Regions from separate parts of the Homo sapiens genome. Here region 2 is linked to region 1. Evidence: promoter capture Hi-C in 16 types of primary human blood cells and fetal thymus (Javierre and others, 2016). All regions are on one chromosome and are shown on one strand. Each heading gives the region's core, a stretch centred on a gene start or on the middle of the fragment in contact. The rest is flanking DNA. Distances are from core to core; before and after follow the strand shown. Region 1 holds the start of CES4A (carboxylesterase 4A). Region 2 holds the start of TMEM208 (transmembrane protein 208).

Region 1 (2,725 bases), core at 217-2,716:
GGCCTTCATTAGAGGAGCACAGAGCCCAGGCAGCAATGATTGGGCAGTGAATGCCACATTCCTTGGGACTGAGGAAGGGTCACAAGGATGGGAACTGTGGGAGAGGAGTCCCAAATAAAGAGCATCTCCGAAGAACTCAGAAAATTGACTGTGAAAGAAGGAGGTTTAACCATCTGTCAGGCCTATAGAGCAAGAGGCTGTGGGCCAAGGGAGAAGTTCTCTGTTCCCCTGCCTTTTCCCCTCCCCAGCACAGAAGCCCAACAGACCCTCTTTTCACAAAGATGGGCCAGGACCCCAGACTTTGGGGGTACACGAGAGAGGAAACATCTTACCTTTTTTTTGTTCTTTGAGATGGAGTCTCACTCTGTCGCCCAGGCTGGAGTACAGTGACGCCATCTTGGCTCACTGCAAGCTCCGCCTCCTGGTTTCAAGCAATTCTCTTGCCTCAGCCTCCTGAGTAGCTGGAACTACGGGCGCGTGCCACCACGCCCGGATAATTTTTTGTATTTTTAGTAGGGACGGGGTGTTAGCCAGGATGGTCTCGATCTTCTGACCTCGTGACCCGCCTGCCTCAGCCTCCCAAAGTGTTGGGATTACAGGCATGAGCCACCGTGCCTGGCCTATTTATTTTTGAGACAGGGTCTCACTCTGTCACCCAGGCTGGAGTGCAGTGGCCCGATCTCGGCTCACTACAACCTCCGCCTCCCAGGTTCAAGCCATCCTCCTGCCTCAGCCTCCTGAGTAGCTGGGACTACAGGCACACACTACCACGCCCAGCTAATTTTTGTATTCTTTGTTTTAGTAGAGACGGGGTTTCACCATGTTGGCCAGGCTGGTCTCGAACTCCTGACCTCAGGTGATCCACCTGCCTCAGCCTTCCAAAGTGCTGGTATTACAGGCATGAGCCACCACACCCAGCCCCATCTTACCTTTGACTGAAGATGGGACTGCTGTCTCCTTGCTTCCACCTCCCACACTTGCTCCTGTGGCTCCAAACTTCAAACAGGATCTTTCTTTGCCTGGCCCACTCCTCCTCATCCTTTACTTAGAAGATTAGATCTTTTCCAGGGAATCTTCATTCCCACCACCCGGCTCTGGGCTCACTCCTCGGGTGCCCCTCTGGGCTCCCACATTACGGTTGCTTTCAGGTCCAGCTTCCGCATGTGGACTATGAAACTGTGAGGACAGCCAAGGGTCAGCATGTGCGAGGAAAGGCAGGGAAGAGGCTAGACGAGGCACTGGGGAGCAGGGAGGCCCAAGACCCTTAAATCCACAGACAGGAAGCCCTGGCTGAAGGGCCAAGTAACCAGGTGTTCTACTTCAATCTTGGCACCCACTGTATGCTTAGACCTTGACTCACACATGTTCAGCTTTAAGCCACTGCACAGATGAGCAAACGGGGCGGAGATTGCAGGCTGATCAGTTTGAAGAGCCAAGATCATCTAGCGTGACCTGTTGCCCAAGGCAGAGACAAGGCTGTGGGCTGGTCAGAAGCTGGTTACAATTCCTCCCGCCCCAGTACTTGCTGGCAGGGATTAAGAGCAGATAAAAGTGTGCTCACACACTGTAGACACGGCTACCATGCCATCCACAGTGTTGCCATCCACAGTGTTGCCATCACTCCTGCCCACAGCAGGAGCTGGCTGGAGCATGAGGTGGATTCTGTGCTGGAGCCTCACCCTCTGCCTGATGGCGCAGACGGCCTTGGGTAAGACCCCCACCCCTTCCCGAGAGTGTCAGGCAAGACGGGCACAAGGGATGGAGGGACAGGCCCCAGTTCAACCTCTCCTGGGGACAGCAGGGCAGGAGCACTTAGACAAGGCCTGGGCAAATGGAGGGTAGGGTTTCAGGACACTAAACCATCTACCAGCTGGGAGTCTGGACAAGTCCTTTAGCCTCCCTGAACCTCAGGGCTTCTCTGTATTTCCTGCCTCCCGGCACAGGTGAAGGGGTCTGAGAACATGGCCACATCTTTTCTTCCTTCCCACCTTTTTCCTTCCTTCCATCCTTCTTTCCTTCTCCTAAGCAGGAGGCCTGTCTCTGCCCCCTCTCTGCTACATGAACCTCTTTACCACCTTCAAATTTCTCCCCAATATCTTTCTTTTTAAAATGAGTACTACACTTTTTACTGTGAAAACAATCTAATACATTAACAAAAGTTTACTGAGGTATAAGATGTATACAGCAAGGTGCACACATCTTCACTGTATAATTATATCTATTATACTAATTATTATATATATATATATGGTAACCATTATCCAGATCAACATCTAGAACATTTCCAGTGGGTTAGGCATGGTAGCTCATGCCTGTAATTCCAGCACTTTGAGAGGCTGAGGTGGGAGGATTACTTGAGCCCAGGAGTTTGAGACCAGCCTGGGCAAATAGTGAGACCTAGCCTGGGTAAATAGACTCTGTCTCTATTTTTAAAAAACATTTTTTAAAAAGTTTTTTTAACTTACAAGGATACACCTGTAATCCCAGCACTTTGGGAGGCCGAAGCGGGCAGATCACCTGAGGTCAGGAGTTTGAGACCAGCCTAACCAATATTATTACCCCGTCTCTACTAAAAATACAAAACTAGCCAGGCATGGTGGCACATGCCTGTAATCCCAGCTACTCAGGAGGCTGAGGCAGGAGAATCGCTTGAAGCCAGGAGGCAGAGGTTGTAGTGAGCCGAGATCGTGCCATTGCACTCCAGCCTGGGCAACAAGAGCGAAAC
Region 2 (2,725 bases), core at 114-2,613, 240 kb after region 1:
TACTGAGAGGACAATGACTGGCAGAATAGACTTCTGGGCCAGGAAGGGAGGCATAGGGAAGACAGTATTGATGGGGACTGGGACTGACCAAGTCCCAATCCCTCCAGGGAGGCACGGAAGCCTGTTTGAGCTGAGTTAAGACAGTGGCCATCCTGTCTTCTGGGGCTAAGCAGCCAGCCCAAGAGCAAAGGGAGAGGGGAACAAACCTGTCATCCCTTGGGGTGAGTCGGGAAGGGACACAATTCATTGACCTAAGAAGAGGGTGGCCTTTCTAGAGGGACAAGAGGAGGCAGTGATGAGGATGGAGTGACCATCCCATGAGTCCCATCTCAAGGGGGCTACTGGAGATAATGATTGGTCACTCATGGGGTCTATGGGGATGGAAATAGATAGCCCCTAAAGCTAAGGGGGAAAGGGATAGCACTGCAAGCTCAATAGGGGTGGGAACAGGCCTATTTTTGCTAAGGACAGGAGCATCATTCCAGGACCGATGGGAAAGGGTGGCCTGTTTCCCATGGGCAGAGAGAGGGGGCTGCCAACCCTCAGGACAAAAGAGATGGAGAAGCCATTCCAACAGGCCACTGAAGACAAAACCTGTTATCTCCCTGGCAGATGGGGCAGAGTGGTCTTGCCCCTGGCTAAGGGGAAGGAGCAAACATCCCACGGAGTGAAAGAGGTAAGGGCGGCCATCACTAGGGGCCTAGGAATGGGGAACAGGCCTATCCTTGTTAAAGGAACTCAGAGATCATTGCAGTTGATGGGGAGGGAGCAGTCTGTTTCCCACTGCCAGGGAGAAGGGGCGGCCGTCTCTGTAGGAAATGGAGAGATCATCCCAAGGGACCAATGGGGATAAGATCAGTTACCCTTCGGGACGATGAGATGGAGCGGACATCTTCCAGAACTGAGCGGGGAGGAGACAGCCACTTCAAGGGAAGGGGATGGGCAGAGGGCCTGTTCTCGCGGAGATGACAGGGCAGCTATCTTCTGGGGCCGATAGGGAAGGGGAGGACGGTCCCCCAAGCTAAAGGGACAGAGTGGCCCAAAGGAGGAACCGTTACCCAGAGCTAGAAGGTCCCGGGATCGGGAGGGCGGGTCGTTTCCGCCAGGCTGGAGGGGCCGGGCTAGCTATCTGACAGCCCCTCCCCAAAGCTCAGGACCGCGAGGGCGGGGCCTGTCCAGAGCTAGGCCTGAGGGCGGCTTCCTCTCACCTCCAGGGGCAGCGACTCCGCCATCGCATCCCTGCCGCCTCCGCCCCCACTGCGCAAGGCTTTCTGGGAAATGTAGTCTCGCCTCTTTGGGGCGGGGCTTGGGAAGGAAGTGAGACCTATTTCCGTCGCAAAAGCTGACGACTTCGGTCTGCGCCGGAAGTGCATGAGCTGCCGATGTGGTGCTTAGTGATTGCGGTTTCGGTCGCTCTCCCGTGTTTCCCGGGCTGGGTATTTGCCTCGCACCATGGCGGTAAGGAGGATGGATAGGGCGGGGTCCGCACCAGCAAAGCTCTCCAGGGGCTGTGAGAGTGAAAACTGAGAAAGAACATTAAGGGATATGGGGTGGGCCAGAGCGGGGCGCCATCCCTGGCCAGACCGTGCTAGAGCTGGGCTGGGGGGATGGCGGCGCAGGACCATACCAGGACTAGTGCCAGAGCGGGGTGGGCATCAGTACCAGGGCAGGCCAGAGATCTAAGTGACCTGAGGTGGGGGTTAACCCAGATCGGGACTACGCCAGCGGAGGCCTGAGAGAGGCACCATTCAACTCCGCTCAGGAGTACCCTTGGAAGAGTCGTTAGCCTAAAGCCAGACTACCACGGGATCCAGAGGCGGTATTAGCTTAGGATTGAATTGTTCCAGGGCGAGCAAGAGGCGATTGATCCTAGCTGCGGGTGCTGGAGAGATGGCGTCAGCCCTAGGCAGAATGGACTGGAGGATGGGTGGACATCCCAGGGATTTTGCTAGGTTTCTGCACTACGGGGACCTGGCTGAGTTGCGGATGGAGCTCTATAGCTCACCAGGCTGGTGGGGAGAATGAGGAGGACCGTGGCCTCCTGACGGCATCTCATCATTCCTCTGCAGCCCAAGGGCAAAGTGGGCACGAGAGGGAAGAAGCAGATATTTGAAGAGAACAGAGAGACTCTGAAGTTCTACCTGCGGATCATACTGGGGGCCAATGTAAGTGCCTACCTCCTTGCTTCTATGCCCACTTATAGTCAGTTCCCTAGTCCTCAGCCCTGCTTGGTGACGAGGAGTGGTACCCGAAAAAGCTCTAGAAGAGAGCTCCAGTCAAAAAGAAATGAGAGATCTGGGCACAGAGAAAGTGCTAACTAGTAAAACACAAAGAAAATGAAGGCGTGAGTCGTAGCTGAATTTGAGAGCTCTTCCTACCTCCAAGTACACAAAGGCTTCTTTCCTGGGCTGAGTTGGGTGTCAGAGGAGAGTGGGTATTTGGGATTCAGGGAGCAGGGCCCTTTCTTCAACCCTGTAAGAACAACCTTGCTCCTCCCACAGCCTGGCCTAATTCTTGGTCAGAGTTGAGGGAGACCCATGGTTTGGAGGTAACTTCTGACCCCAACCTGATCCTGTGATTGCTTGCAGGCCATTTACTGCCTTGTGACGTTGGTCTTCTTTTACTCATCTGCCTCATTTTGGGCCTGGGTAAGTATCTCCATCCTGGGAGGTGGATGAGTGCGTAGGGTCAGTGGCTGGCCTTTGATACCCTCATTCTTGCTCTG

The links. Contacts are between HindIII fragments. The CHiCAGO score rates a contact against its expected background, and 5 or more counts as called.
Region 2: a contact is called between the fragment with the promoter of TMEM208 here and the fragment with the promoter of CES4A in region 1, in 15 of 17 cell types (activated CD4 T cells, naive CD8 T cells, total CD4 T cells and 12 more). The highest score is 12.3, in activated CD4 T cells.

What each region holds. Positions count from the first base shown.
Region 1 is chr16:66,987,123-66,989,847 of GRCh38, forward strand. It overlaps CES4A (carboxylesterase 4A), which reads left to right and starts at 1,467. Exons shown (of 14, transcript NM_001364782.1): 1 at 1,467-1,708. The coding sequence starts at 1,651. The HindIII fragment of the contact is 37,432 bases long and covers 1-2,725 here.
Region 2 is chr16:67,225,767-67,228,491 of GRCh38, forward strand. TMEM208 (transmembrane protein 208) reads left to right here and starts at 1,364. Exons shown (of 6, transcript NM_014187.4): 1 at 1,364-1,458; 2 at 2,070-2,165; 3 at 2,589-2,648. The coding sequence starts at 1,453. It also overlaps the pseudogene FBXL9P. RefSeq lists an enhancer at 1,167-1,516. The HindIII fragment of the contact is 11,037 bases long and covers 1-2,725 here.